Regions from separate parts of the Homo sapiens genome. Here regions 1, 3, 4 and 5 are each linked to region 2. Evidence: promoter capture Hi-C in human tissues and cell types (Jung and others, 2019). All regions are on one chromosome and are shown on one strand. Each heading gives the region's core, a stretch centred on a gene start or on the middle of the fragment in contact. The rest is flanking DNA. Distances are from core to core; before and after follow the strand shown. Region 1 holds the start of TLE2 (TLE family member 2, transcriptional corepressor). Region 2 holds the start of ZNF555 (zinc finger protein 555). Region 3 overlaps GNG7 (G protein subunit gamma 7). Region 4 overlaps GNG7 (G protein subunit gamma 7). Region 5 holds the start of GNA11 (G protein subunit alpha 11).

Region 1 (2,700 bases), core at 1-2,500, 190 kb before region 2:
ATCAAGGGGCATGGATTTTTCTCTGTTTTGTTCCCAGCTGTGCCCCAGTGTCTACAGCAGTGTGTGGTCCACAGTATGCATTTAGTACACGTTTGTTGATTGACTTCACAAACCTCTCCTGAGGTTTCTCCAAAGAGAATAAGAACTTCCCACTCCCCGGGTGGGCCTGAAGGATGCTGGCTGGATGTCTGTGGTCTCTGGTCGGGGCTGGAGCCTTTGCCGTGGGAGAGACTTGAGTCTGATGGCAGAGCTGTGGTTCTTCCAGTTCTGAGTGGGACACGGCTCCTGCCTTCAAGAAACCCAGTCTGAGAGGGGAGACAGCCCAGTCCACTGGTGATGGCAGTAGGAACACAATTCCCATCTGTGGAAGTTTGCTCTGTGTAGGGAGAGGCTGACAGCGTTCATGCACTATCTCATTTAAGTGCAGTGCCCAGTGCGGTGGCTCCCGCCCGTAATCCCAGCACTTTGGAAGGCCGAAGAGAGAGGCTTGAGTCCAGGAGTTCAAGACCAGCCTGGGCAACATAGTGAGACGCCCCCCTACTCCATCTCTGCAAAAAATTAAAAAATTAGCTGGGCGTGGTGGTGCACACCTGTAGTCCCAGCTACTGGAGAAGCTGAGGGGGAAGGATCGCTTGAGCCCAGGAGTTCGAGGCTGCAGTGAGCCATGATTGCCCCACTGTACTCCAGCCTGGGCAACACAGGGAGACCCTATCTCTGCAAAAAATTAAACCCTAAAGATAGCGCACCACCCCTGACCTTTTGCAGAGACTACTGAGGCCCCCAGAGGGCGAGGGCCCGGCATGATCTGGGAAGCAGTGTTTGCTGTGAGATTCCCTTTCTGGCAGGGTTCCCTGCCAGCGCTTGGCAAGGCTGCGTCCTGCTGACCCTTCAATCTCAACCCAATGTCACTTGCTCAGAAAAGCCATTTCCGACTCCAGACTGGTCCCCGCTCCCCGCAAGCCCCCCCCCCCGCTCCCACGGTGGGTAACACGGTGTGAATTTCTTCACTGGTTTTTCTTCTCCCGCCCCTCCGGGAGGGGGTGGGGACCCTGTTTTAAGGCACTGGGCGCCTCCCCACCCGGCCTCAGTTTCCCCAACGGCCCAGGGACTGAAGGAAGGGGGCGGGTGCCCGGGGGCCGGGGGGGGCGCGGGCGCGGGGAGGGGCGGTGCGCGGGGGTGGGCGCGGGGCGGGCCGCGGGCGCGTGGGGGCGGCGGCGCCACCTTAAGGCGGCTCAGCCCGCGGCTCCCGGCCGAGCCCCGCCGGAGGGAGGCGGCTCCGCGCGGGGCCCGCCGCCCGCGCCGCCGCCACCGAAACCCGGCCGCGGCGCGCCCGACCTTCTGCGCCGGCTGCCGCGGCCGCCCTCGCCGCGCTCCCGCCCCGGCCGCTGCCCCTGCCCGCCCCGCTCGCCCCGCGCACCCCAACCCGGGGAGGGGCTCCCACGACCCCGGGCGCGCGCGCTTGGGGGCGCGCCAGGGACTCCAGGGTCCCTTGCCCCGCGCCGCTTCTCCCTCCTCCCTCTTTCTTCGGGCAGCCTCCCCACCACCCCACTTCAGCCTCCCCCACTCTTGCCGCCTCCATATCATCAAGCTCTGGTGGCGCCTGGGGGGCTTTTCGGATCGGCAGGATGTACCCCCAGGGAAGGCACCCGGTGAGTGCGGACTGCGGGGAGGGGGCCCCCAGTGTCCGGGAACTCAGACCCTGACGTTTCCCCCACACCCCCCCCAGACCCCGCTCCAGTCCGGCCAGCCCTTCAAGTTCTCGATCTTGGAGATCTGCGACCGCATCAAAGAAGAATTCCAGTTTCTTCAGGCTCAATACCACAGGTGAGGGGGGCCGCCCCAGGGGCCGCGGGAGTTCACCTGGGCGCCGGGGCGGGGCGAGGCCTCCGGGGTATAGGGCGGGGAGGAGGGGCTCCCGGTTGGAGGGGGGGCGCGACAAAGGCCTCCAGGTGGAAGCGCAGGTGCAGAGGGGTCTGGGGACAGTCAGAGCTGGGGCATTTGGAGCCCAGGAAGGGGCGGGGAGGGACTGGGACAGGAGGTGGGGGGAGGTCTGTAAGGAAGTCGGGAGGGGGAGATCCAGCCTCTCACTTTGGAAGCCGGCCCACATGGGGCGGGTGGGAGCCCCTTGCCCTCTCTCTTCTTCTCAGCCTCAAGCTAGAATGTGAGAAGCTGGCCAGCGAGAAGACGGAAATGCAGCGACATTATGTCATGGTGAGGGCACTTATGATGCCAGGGTGAGGGGAGAGGCGGGCAGGGCTTTGAGTCACGGTGGACTCTGGGGTAGGTCCCTGCCCCACTCCGAACCTCGTCTTCCCCGTCTGTACATTGGGCAGGTTGGGATTTCAGGCTCTCTAGGAGGGTCCTCCCAGCTCTGGGAATGGGGAGACAGGGAGGACCCCTCGCCTGATGGGAGTCTCTGTCGGGCCAGGGCCTCTGGACACTTCCTACCTGCCCTGCCTCTCTGGGGAGAGTAGAGGGGGCCCTTCCAGGCAGAGCCCCCGCTTCCTCCTCTGGGACCCCGTGGAGCTGGGGGGGGCTCTGCTTCCTGCTGTGATTCCCCTGAACCTGGGGACTCTTGGAAGACCCTGGCATCACCTATCTGGAGGAGGGCACCCATCTCCACCCTAGACGTTCTTACTTGGTTTTTCCTTTGCAGTATTATGAGATGTCGTACGGGCTCAACATTGAAATGCATAAGCA
Region 2 (2,700 bases), core at 29-2,528:
TTTTATCTTCCAACTTCTACTAATTAAATGTACGTTTCACTTCCTAAAAACTGCTGACTCGAAAAAAGGAAAATCTTTTCACAGTGACAAACCCAGGGAGGGGTCAAGTCTGGCCAGGCTACCACGACGGACGCCCTCCCACCCCCAACTCAGGTGTTGCCTCAGCAAGGAATCCCATTGCTAGTACTCAAAACAGAACTGAGAAACGTCTTCAAATCCACACTTTCTAGGGAACCGTGAAAGAATATATTTCCGTGGTTTTAGCCCCCTCGTTTGCAGTCAGTTGCTACAGCAGTCCGAGGACACTAATGCACCAGCCTCCCGGGCGTCCCCGCTGTGGGTCTGCGTGCGTTTGCTTTTGGGGTCCTCGCTCTCCCTTGTTTCTCTAGTCTTTTCAGTTACTTTTCTTCCTTGTGTGTGAGAGCCCAGGGACCAGGAACCCTTGTTTTTTTTCCCCTTACCTACCCCAGGCATCTTGGGGTCAGAGGGGACAAGAAGTCCTCAAGAAGGAAAACCGGGACTCAGGGGAGGAAACCTCGCACGCCCCAGGGGCTGCCTTTGCAGGTGGGGGCGTCTCCGCCCCCGCCGAGGCCCCACCGCTCCCGGGCTGTCCCGGGAGGAACCCAGGGTCCCCCAGAGACCGCGGCCGGAGGCGCGGGGCCTCCAAGGAGCTGAGCCGCGGGAGCGCGAGCGGAGGCGGCACCGACCAGGGACCCGCACCCCAGGAGGCACCGCGGCGTCGGCCCCAGGGCGGGTCCCGGGGGAGCCTGGACCGCACCTCGGGGTCTCGGGCGACTCTGCCTCCCGCGGCCCGGGGGTCCCGAAGCCGCAGCGAAACGCTCCGAGGCGTCGCGGCCCCGGGCGGGGCGTGGGGGGTCGGGAGCGCAGGGACGCGGGGACCCCGGGACGACGGGGACGGAGTCGGGCTCCGGGCGCCGCTCCCCGCTCTGCAGCCTTGGGGCCAGAGGCGGGCGGGGACCCGGAGCTCGGAGCGCCCTAGCCGCGACCTCAGCGCGGGAGGCGGGGCCGGGCGGGACCCCCGGGGCCCAGGCTCCCGTCCTGCGCCGCCCTCGCCGGGGCCGCCCCCCGCGTCCCTCAGCTCCCCCCAAGCCGCGGTCTCGGGCGGTCGCCGGTTCCTGCTGCCCCGCACCGGGATCCTCTCCTGCGCCACACTCACCATGTCCCGGGGCGATTTCTTCGCTACCGGCGCAGGTGAGCGCGACAGGAACCGGGACGCCAGGGACCGCTAGGGGCAGGCGGGGCACTCACGGCTAGGACAGAGGCGTCCCGTCCCAGGGGCCTGATTAGACAGAGCTCGGGAAGCCGCGCTTCTGATTGGACAGTGCTGCCAACGTCGGCGACTCTGATTGGAGAATTCCCCAGTCCGTCCCCTGGCGCTGTAAATTGGGCAGTTCCCCGGATTCCGATTGGGCGTCCCTCATTGGATACTTGTCTCGGCCCCGCCCCCGCCCGTCCTGACTGGGTAGTTCCCTAGGGCCCACCCCCTGCCGGTGAGTGACGGGAGCGTTGCGAACACGCGTGGCTGTCCCGCCCTGCGGGGACACTGGCTTCTGGGCGAACTGGTTTCAGCCCGGGGCGGAATCGCCCTCTCCCCGCAGTTCGGGCGCCCCGCCCGCGTCCTCCTCCGGGACGGGCGTGGGAACTCCAGACTAGTTTCCTCACGAGGCGACCCCTTGTCCGGACAGGAGGTGGATGCAAGCGGGCGGCCCGGGCCTGGCAGGGCGAACGGGGGCTGGGCGCCGGGTCCGAAGGGCCGAGACCTACGTGGGGGCGGGACCCGCAGACGTGACGTCATCGCGCTGCGGGCGACATGGAGACCCCGCCCAGGGGGCTGCGAATCCGGAGACCCGGTCTGGGGGAGGCCGAACCCAAAGCCTGGCAGGGGGCAGGAGCTTTGCTCAAATCAACCAGAAGATATGAGATGTTCATTAAAACCCTCACATTTGGCTGGGCGCAGTGGCTCACGCCTGTAATCCCAGCACTTTGGGAGACCGAGGTGGACGGATCATCTGAGTTCAGGAGTTTGAGACCATCGTGGCCAATATGGTGAAACCCTTTCTCTACTAAAAATACAGAAATCAGCCCGGCGTGGTGCCGGGCGCCTGTAATCTCAGCTACTGGGGATGCTGGGGCAGGAGAATTGCTTGAACCCGAGAGGTGGAGGTTGTAGTGACCCGAGATCGCCCCACTGCAGTCTAGCCTGGGCGACAGAGTGAGACTCCATATTAAAAAACAAAAAAACTCTCAAGTTCATATTTTAAACTCTAAGGAAAATGTTTTCAGATCATTTTTTTAAGTACATCCCCCCAAAATTTGGAAGATTGAAAAGCTGGCCGGGCGCTGTGGCTCACGCCTGTAATCCCAGCACTTTGGGAGGCCGAGGCGGGCGGATCACCTGAGGTCAGGAGTTCAAGACCAGCCTGCCCAACATGGCAAAACCCTGTCTCTACTAAAAATACAAAATTAGCCGGGCGTGGTGGCGCGCACCTGTAATCCCAGCTAGGGAGGCTGAGGCAAGAGAATCGCTTGAGGCCGGGCACGGTGGCTCACGCCTGTAATCCCAGCACTTTGGGAGGCCGAGGCGGGCGGATCACGAGGTCAGGAGATCGAGACCATCCTGGCTAACACGGTGAAACCCCGTCTCTACTAAAAAATACAAAAAAATTAGCCAGGCCTGGT
Region 3 (2,722 bases), core at 180-2,679, 180 kb after region 2:
GCCCAGGCTGGGTTGCAGTGGCGTGATCTCTGCTCACTGCAACCTCCGCCTCCCGGGTTCAAGCGATTCTGCCGCCTCAGCCTCCCAAGTATCCGGGATTACAGGCGCAGCACCTTGCCCGGCTGATTTTTGTATTTTTAATAGAGACGGGTTGGGTTTCACCATGTTAGCCAGGCTGGTCTCGAACTCCTGACCTCAAGTGATCCACCCGCCTCAGCCTCCCAAAGTGCTGGGATTACAGGCGTGAGCCACCGCGCCCGGATGAGTGTGTGTTTTGTGTGAAGGGATGCTCTGTGCTAACTCTGCCGTGTGATGTTGAGGATCGGAGGTGAATCTTTTTTGACAGGACCCTCATCTAATTTCAGGATGGAAGACTGGAACACTGCCTAGATGAGAGTATTTAGTTGCTGAAATGGTGCTATTTTGTCTTAGACTGTTTTGCGAGGGTCTCAACCAATGGCCTTGGGGGCAAATCCAGGCCACCTGTTACTATAAATAAAGTTTTATTGGCACACGATGGGCCATGCCCATTTATTTATGCATAGTCTATGGCTGCTTTCAAAATACAACAGCAGAACTGTGTAGCTGCAACAGAGAACATATGTTCCGTAAGGCTGAAAATTTTTACATCCTGCCCTAGACAGAAACACTTTGCTGTGCTCTGGTCTAGTCCAGAAAGGAGGTAATCTGGCCAGGCAAGGTGGCTCACACTTGTAATCCCAGCACTTGGGGAGGCTGAGCAGGGAGGATCGCTTGAGCCCAGGAGTTCAAGGCCAGTCTGGGCAACATAGCAAGATCCTATCTCTATGAAAAGTAAAAACTAAAAAAGCAGGCATGGTGGCTCACACCTATGTAATCCCAGGACGTTGGGAGGCTGAGGTGGGCAGATCACCTGAGGTCAAGAGTTTAAGACCAGCCTGGCCGACATGGCGAAACCCCATCTCTACTAAAAATACAGAAATTAGCCGGGCATGTTGGCAGGTGCCTGTAATCCCAGCTACTCGGGAGGCTGAGGCAGGAGAATCCCTTGAACCCGGGAGGCTGAGTTTGCAGTGAGCTGAGATCGTGCCACTGCACTCCAGCCTGGGCGACAAGAGCAAGACTCTGTCTCAAAATAAAAATGAATAAATAAATACAATAAAAATTAAAACATAAGCCGGGCACGGTGGCACTTTGGGAGGCTGAAGCAGGCAGATCACCTGAGGTCAGGAGTTCGAGACCAGCCTGACCAACATGGTGAAACCCTGTCTCTACTAAAAATACAAAAATTAGCTGGGCGTGGTGGCGGGCGCCTCTAATACTGGCTATATGGGGGACTGAGGCAGGAGAATCACTTGAACCCGGGAGGCAGAGGCAGTGAGCCAAGTTCGCACCACTGCACTCTAGCCTGGATGACAGAGCAAGACTCCATCTCAAAAAATAAGTAAAATAAATTGAAAAAGAATAATAAAAGGAGGTAATCCAGGTTCTAAATAATAAAGCCAGTATGTGCCATGACCCATGGCTCAGACACCACTTTAAACATTTTATAGATACTCATTTATGTAATCTCCAAAACCAGTCTCACAGGGTGGATGCTGCTTCGATGTGCATTCTACAGAGTGGGAAACTGAGGCACAGCGACAGTGGCAAGGGACTGAAGGTCACCCAGCCAGACAGCGAGTCGTGAAGTCAGAATGGAGTAGCTCTTGTCCAGCACTCCACCTTGGCCATACCAGAGCGTACGTCCCCACCCAATCCTTCCTCGGGACTCAGTGGAGCTATTTTCACATTGAGGGGAAATAGAAATCCGTTCGTTCTCATTTTCTTTCTTTTTTTTGTCCCGCATGGCCCTCTTCCCAAATCCTTGTTGCCCGTCTCACCAGACATTCCAGTTCCAAGAGGTGGGGTGTGGCGAGGACTGTCCAGCACGGCAGGGTGATCCTGCCCCCCCCCCCCCAGGGGACACTGGGCCATGTCTGGGGACATTTGTGGCTGTCACCATTGAGAAGTGCTCCGGGCATGCAGTGGCTGGAGGTCACGGATGCCGCTCAGCGTGCTGCAGTGCTCAGGACGGCTCCATCCCAGAGAATGGTACAGCCCCAGTGTCCACCGTGCCTGGGAGGAGAGACTCAGCATTCATTATTTGGAGAAGAAATGGAGTCTGCTTCCTGCTCACCAGGACACACTCCTGATGGGGCAGACGGTGTAAACCAGGGGACCCCAGCTCGTGGGATTCACCTCCTCTCTCCCTCCCCCCAACTAAAGGTGTGGATTTCAATGTGTGCAGCCTCCTGGGACCTCAGCAGGACAGAAGATCAGGGGACAGAGTATCTTGGGGGTCCGTGGAATTTCCTAATTCAGGGGGTGTCAACTGAGGGTGATTCTGCCCCAGGGGACACTGGGTGTTGTCTGAGGACATTTGTCGTTGTCACAACTTGAGGATGGTCGTGGCGTGGAGTGGGTGGAGGCCAGGGACACTGCTCAGCACCCTGCAGTGTCCGGGACAGCTGCACCCTAGAGAATGACCCAGCTCTGAATGTCCACGGTTTCCAGGGGAGAGACCTTGCATTAACTGGCAAAAAAATGAGTTTGCTCCCTGCTCACAGTAGACACCAGAATAGATTCCCGATGGGGCAGACGGTGTCAGCCGGGGCCATCCTCCCAGAGTGACCTAGAGGACTGGGTGAGGAGGGTCTCTAGAGCACTGAGGGTGCAGGACACAGAGCCAACCGTCTGATTG
Region 4 (2,700 bases), core at 78-2,577, 150 kb after region 2:
CTCCATTTTTAAATGGTTGGAAAAAAAAGTCAAAGGAAGCCCTGCTTCTACCCGCCGCCAAAAGAAGCAAAAAACAAAAGTCAAAGAAAAGGCCATGACACATGACAATTATATGGCATTCAGATTTTAGTGTCCAGAAATAATGTTTTATTGGCACACTGCTCTGTGTATTCTGCTACCATGGTGTAGTTAAGTCGTTGCCGTAGAGAGTGGCTCCACCGCAAGGCTGAAAACACTGGGTATCTGGACTCTTACCGAAAAAGCGTGTTGGCCCTCGAGTCCATCTCGCACGCTTTATGCATGGGAAAACTGAGGTCTGGAGGTTTCACGAGTTAGTGGTCATGCTGGGACTTGATCTTGGAACTTTGTACTTTAGCATTTGTCATGTCATTTCAGCCTCTGTGTTGTCAGAGCTCTAACAGTTAACTTCAGAGAATTGCATCGAATATGGTTTTTTTTTTTTTTTTTTTTTTTTTTTGAGTTGGAGTCTCACTCTGTAGCCCAGGCTGGAGTGCAATGGCGCCATCTCAGCTCACTGCAGCCTCCGCCTCCCAGGTTCAAGTGATCCTCCTGCCTTAGCCTCCTGAGTAGCTGGGATTACAGGCGTCCACCACCACACCCGGCTATTTTTTGTATTTTTAGTAGAGACGGGGTTTCACCATGATGGCCAGGCTGGTCTCGAACTTCTGACCTCAGGTGATCCACCCGCCTTGGCCTCCCAAAGTGCTGGGAGGCCCACCGAGCCCGGCCCAAATGTGGTCTTGTTAGGAGCGTTTATTCCTGTAGCCTCCATAATGAGAAGGGCTTAATGATTTGGGAACAATTTTATATAATTATTTTTTTTCCCCTATAACACGGTGCCATGCATAGTATGATTGGCATTTTTTTCCCCCTTTTTTTTTGCATTATTTTTATTTTTGTTTATTTTTTTCTTATTTATTTATTTATTGTATGTATTTATTATGTTGGGGCAAACATAATTGTGGTCTTTGCCATTAAAAGTAATATTTTTTAAATTTACATTTACATTTTTTTTTGAGACAGAGTCTTACTCTGTCGCCCAGGCTAAGTGCAGTGGAGTGATCATGGCTCACTGTAGCCTCCAACTCCTGGGCTCAAGCGATCCTCCCACCTCAGCCTCCTGAGTAGCTGGGACCACAGGCACGCAACCCCGTGCCTGGCTAATTTTTGTTTTATTGTAGAGATGAGGTCTCGCTATTTTGCCTAGGCTGGTCTCGAACTCCTGAACACAAGTGATCCTGCCACCCCGGACTCCCAAAGTGTTAGGAGGACAGACGGGAGCCACTGTGCCCGGCTAACAATGGGTTCATTTCTCTCAACTCCACACTTTATTCAAATGTCATTAATCTTCCCCTAATGTCCTTTCCTGCCCCAGGACCCATCTAGAATCCCACGTGACATTTAGCCGGCTCGTCTCCGGGGGTTCTTCCAGGTTGGGACCATGTCTTAGATGTTCGTTACCTCTCGTGACCTGGACGGTCTTAGGGGGACCGGCTGGGTATTGTGCAGACTTACTTCTGATCTAGGTTTGTCAGATATTTCTCTCGTGATCAGACCGGGGTTACGGGTTTCGGGAAAGAACACGTAGGGGTGAGGTGCCCTGTTGCTCTCTCCCTGCTGGGGATCCTTGAGACCCTGGTGACTTCCTACTGGTGCTGTTAACCTGGTTCTCCCAGCCCAGGTGGCCTTAGCCCACCTACCAGCTACTCTGAGGTCATTCTTGCTGAGGGAACTCCCCACTTCCCCAGAGCACTGACACCGACTCCATCCTTCGTACGGCAAACTTTGCTTTTCATCTTTGCATCATGATTTCTTTTTTCTTTTGTTGAGACGGAGTCTCGCTCTGTCGCCCAGGCTGGAGTGCAGTGGCGCGATCTTGGCTCACTGCAAGCTCCACCTCCTGGGTTTACACCATTCTCCTGCCTCAGCCTCCCGAGTAACTGGGACTACAGGCACCCGCCACCATGCCCGGCTAATTTTTTGTTATTTTTAGTAGGGACGGGGTTTCACCGTGTTAGCCAGGATAGTCTCGATCTCCTGACCTTGTGATCTGCCCAGCTCGGCCTCCCAAAGTGCTGGGATTACAGGCGTGAGCCACCGCGCCCGGCTATTTTATCTGGAGGCAGAGTTTTGTTCTTGTTGCCCAGGTTGGAGTACAGTGGCACGATCTCAGCTCACTCAGGTTCAACTGATTCTCCTGCCTCAGCCTCCCAAATAGTTGGGATTACAGGTGCGTGCCACCTTGCCCGGCTAATTTTTTGTATTTTTAGTAGAGATGGGGTTTCGCCGTGTTGGCCAGGCTGGTCTCGAACTCCTGACCATGTGATCTGCCTGCCTCGGCCTCCCAAAGTGCTGGAATTACAGGCGTGAGCCACCGCGCCCGGCATCATGATTTAAACTTCTTGGCCAGGCTGGTGGCTTACTCCTGTCATGCCAGCACTTTTTTTTGTTTGTTTGTTTTTTGAGATGGAGTTTCACTCTTGTTGCCCAGGCTGGAGTGCAATGGTGCGATCTCGGCTCACCGCAACCTCTGCCTCCCGGGCTCAAGCGATTCTCCTACCTCAACCTCCCAACTAGCTGGGATTACAGGCATGGGCCACCATGCCTGGCTAATTTTGTATTTTTAGTAGAGGCAGGGTTTCTCCATGTTGGCCAGGCTGGTCTCGAACTCCTGACCTC
Region 5 (2,700 bases), core at 95-2,594, 250 kb before region 2:
GTGTCAACCGCCCCACCCTCAGCTGAGCGGAACCCTGAGGAGAGGAAAGACTGTCTTTTTCCCACAGGGTGCATTCCAGCCAAGAGGAGTACGGGGTTTCCCGGAACAGGAAGGCAGGAGAATGGCCCTGAAGGGAATGTGGGGATAGGGGACACGGAGGAGTCTTCGGGGGGATGGGGGGGTGTACAGGGCCTGCATGGAGGGTACAGGGCCTGCATGGAGTGTACAGGGCTCTGCCTGGAGGGAAGGGTCAACGCGGGGCCCTGAGCAGTGAGGGGTGAGTGTGCCCTGTGGGTTACAGCCCAAAGGTCTGGCCCTGAAGGGGTAGCGAGGGGTGGGTACTCCGGTGGGGTAAGGTCAGAAGGTCCCTGTGCAGGGAGGGACTGGTCCCTTGAGAAGGAACAGAGGGCAAATCCTGAAGAGTCCTGGAGGCCCAATGTAGACAGCAGAAGCTGGGAGCTGACCTAGGAGTGATCGGGGGCCTGATCCAGACAGGACAGACACAGGCTGACACCGGAGAGTCCCAGGTGCCAACATGAACAGTTAAGGCAGGGGCTGACCCCAAAGAAATCAGGGGCCCGCAGCTGACCCCGGAGGGTCCCAGGTGCCGACCTAGACAGCAAAGGCAGGGCTGACCCCAGAGGGTCCCGAGCCGACCCAGACGACACAGGCAGGGCTGATCCCGGAGGGCCCCGCCCCGACCCGGACAGGCAGTGAAGGCACAGGCAGGGCTGACACTCGAGGGTCCCGCGACCCGGACAGGCAGGGAAGGCACAGGCAGGGCTGACCCCGGAGGGTCTCGCGACCCGGACGGCACAGGCAGGGCTGACCCCGGAGGGTCCCGGCCCGACCCGGACAGGCAGGGCAGGCACAGGCAGGGCAGGGCCCGCAGCCGGCAGGCCCGGGGGCCGCACTCACCGAGCAGCAGCAGCTTGAGCTCGCGCCGGGCGTCGCGCTTGTCCCGCCGCAGCTGCTTCTCGATCTCGGCGTTGATCCGCTTGGACTCCTTCACCTCATCGCTCAGGCAACACGCCATCATGGACTCCAGAGTCATCGTCCCGGCCCCGGCCGACGCGGCCGCCTGCCCGCCGCCGCCCCCCGGCCCCCGGCCCGGCCCTGGCCGGAGCCGCCTCGGCCGCCGCCCGCCGCGGCCCTCCGGCCTCGGCCACCGGCCCTCGGCCCCGGGCCGGCCCGCCCCGCCTCGGCCGCCGCCTGGCGAGCCGCCGGGTCCCCGCTCGGGCCGCGCCAGCCGCGGACTCCCGCGCGGCCGCACTCAGCCCGCGCCGCCGCCGCAGCCACCGCCAACCGCAGCCGCCGCAACCGAGCGACAGCGCCGGACAACCTAGCAGGCTGGGAGCGCAGCCCGCGACGGGCAGACGGTGCGGCCAATGGGAGGGGCCGGCGGCCAAGCGCGCCCACCATGGGGGCGGGACTAGCGGCCTGGGCGGGGCGTCGGCGGGCGCGAAAGGGGCGGGGCGGGGCGAGGGCGGGGGGCCCGCGGGTTTGGTTGCGCCGACGTGGGAAGGGGGACGCGCAGCCGGGAGCCGGGGCGGGGCCGCCCGGGATTGTGGGAATGTGGCGGACTCGGCCCGGCCAGGCTCGGCTCCGCTCGGCTCCGTTCGGCCCCGCTCGGTCCCGCTCGGCTCGGCCCAGGCGCGGTGGCGGAGGCGCGCACGCGGCCGCTGCGCTCTCTGGGTCTCCAGGTGCCTGGGCAGCAGTCGCTGCCCCCGGGAAGCGCCCTGACATTGCCTGACAGGAACCTTCACTCATCCATTAAAAAGCGTTAATGGAGGTCGGGCGCGGTGGCTCACGCCTGTAATCCCAGCACTTTGGAAGGCCGAGGCGGGCGGATCACCTGAGGTCTGGAGTTCGAGACCAGCCTGACCAACAGGGAGAAACGCCGTCTCTACTAAAACTACAAAATTAGCCCGGCGTGGTGGTGCACGCCCGTAATCCCAGCTACTCGGGAGGCTGAGGCAGGAGAATCACTTGAACCCAGGAGGCGGAGGTTGCAGTGAGCCGAGATCACGCCATTGCACTCCAGCCTGGGCAACAAGAACGAAACTCCGTCTCCAAAGAAAAAAAAAAAAAAAGAGGGCCGGGCGCGGTGGCTCACGCCTGTAATCCCAGCACTTTGGGAGGCCGAGGCGGGTGGATCACGAGGTCAGGAGATCGAGACTATCCTGGCTGACACGGTGAAACCCCGTCTCTACTAAAAATACAAAAAATTAGCCGGGCGTGGTGGCGGGCGCCTGTAGTCCCAGCTACTCGGGAGGCTGAGGCAGGAGAATGGCGTGAACCCGGGAGACGGAACTTGCAGTGAGCTGAGATCATGCCACTGCACTCCAGCCTGGGCGACAGAGCGAGACTCTGTCTCAAAAAAAAAAATTAAAAAGCGTTAATGGGACACCTACTGTGTATCAGGCATTAATGGGACACATTCTATATGCCAGGCACGGACCAGAGATTAATGGAGTGCCTGCTGTCCATCAGGTGTCAATCAGGCCTTACTGCAGTGCCTGCACCATTCCAGGCCAGGTATACGCATTCATGAAATGCCTACAGGATACCAGGCACTGCTGTAAGCCCGTTAAGCTAACCCTACCCAAGGGATATCTTTTTTTTCTTCTTCTTTTTTTGAGATGGAGTCTTGCTCTGTCGCCCAGGCTGGAGTGCAGGGGCGTGATCTAGGTTCATTGC

What was found. The method cuts DNA at HindIII sites, captures the fragments that hold promoters and counts their contacts. A contact is called where the count stands out against the background at its distance.
Region 1: the fragment with the promoter of TLE2 here is called in contact with the fragment with the promoter of ZNF555 in region 2 in 3 of the 25 tissues and cell types used here (bladder, lymphoblastoid cells and mesendoderm cells).
Region 3: a fragment that was not itself captured here is called in contact with the fragment with the promoter of ZNF555 in region 2 in 1 of the 25 tissues and cell types used here (IMR-90 fibroblasts).
Region 4: a contact is called between a fragment that was not itself captured here and the fragment with the promoter of ZNF555 in region 2, in 1 of the 25 tissues and cell types used here (IMR-90 fibroblasts).
Region 5: a contact is called between the fragment with the promoter of GNA11 here and the fragment with the promoter of ZNF555 in region 2, in 5 of the 25 tissues and cell types used here (IMR-90 fibroblasts, aorta, pancreas and 2 more).

What each region holds. Positions count from the first base shown.
Region 1 is chr19:3,027,830-3,030,529 of GRCh38, reverse strand. It overlaps TLE2 (TLE family member 2, transcriptional corepressor), which reads left to right and starts at 1,250. Exons shown (of 20, transcript NM_003260.5): 1 at 1,250-1,649; 2 at 1,727-1,824; 3 at 2,148-2,211; 4 at 2,657-2,700. The coding sequence starts at 1,626. The HindIII fragment of the contact is 30,131 bases long and covers 1-2,700 here.
Region 2 is chr19:2,840,053-2,842,752 of GRCh38, reverse strand. ZNF555 (zinc finger protein 555) reads right to left here and starts at 1,278. Exons shown (of 4, transcript NM_152791.5): 1 at 1,178-1,278. The coding sequence starts at 1,180. RefSeq lists silencers at 898-947, 988-1,287, 1,508-1,697, 1,708-1,817. The HindIII fragment of the contact is 15,507 bases long and covers 1-2,700 here.
Region 3 is chr19:2,664,579-2,667,300 of GRCh38, reverse strand. All of the region lies in intron 1 of GNG7 (G protein subunit gamma 7), which reads left to right. Among named protein-coding and RNA genes, the nearest start is that of MIR7850, 35 kb to the right of the region's middle. The HindIII fragment of the contact is 9,228 bases long and covers 1-2,722 here.
Region 4 is chr19:2,687,401-2,690,100 of GRCh38, reverse strand. The region is part of intron 1 of GNG7 (G protein subunit gamma 7); the gene reads left to right. Among named protein-coding and RNA genes, the nearest start is that of GNG7, 14 kb to the left of the region's middle. The HindIII fragment of the contact is 8,454 bases long and covers 1-2,700 here.
Region 5 is chr19:3,093,006-3,095,705 of GRCh38, reverse strand. It overlaps GNA11 (G protein subunit alpha 11), which reads right to left and starts at 1,344. Exons shown (of 7, transcript NM_002067.5): 1 at 919-1,344. The coding sequence starts at 1,054. RefSeq lists enhancers at 1-551, 552-1,539 and silencers at 836-965, 1,286-1,405, 1,426-1,675. The HindIII fragment of the contact is 21,058 bases long and covers 1-2,700 here.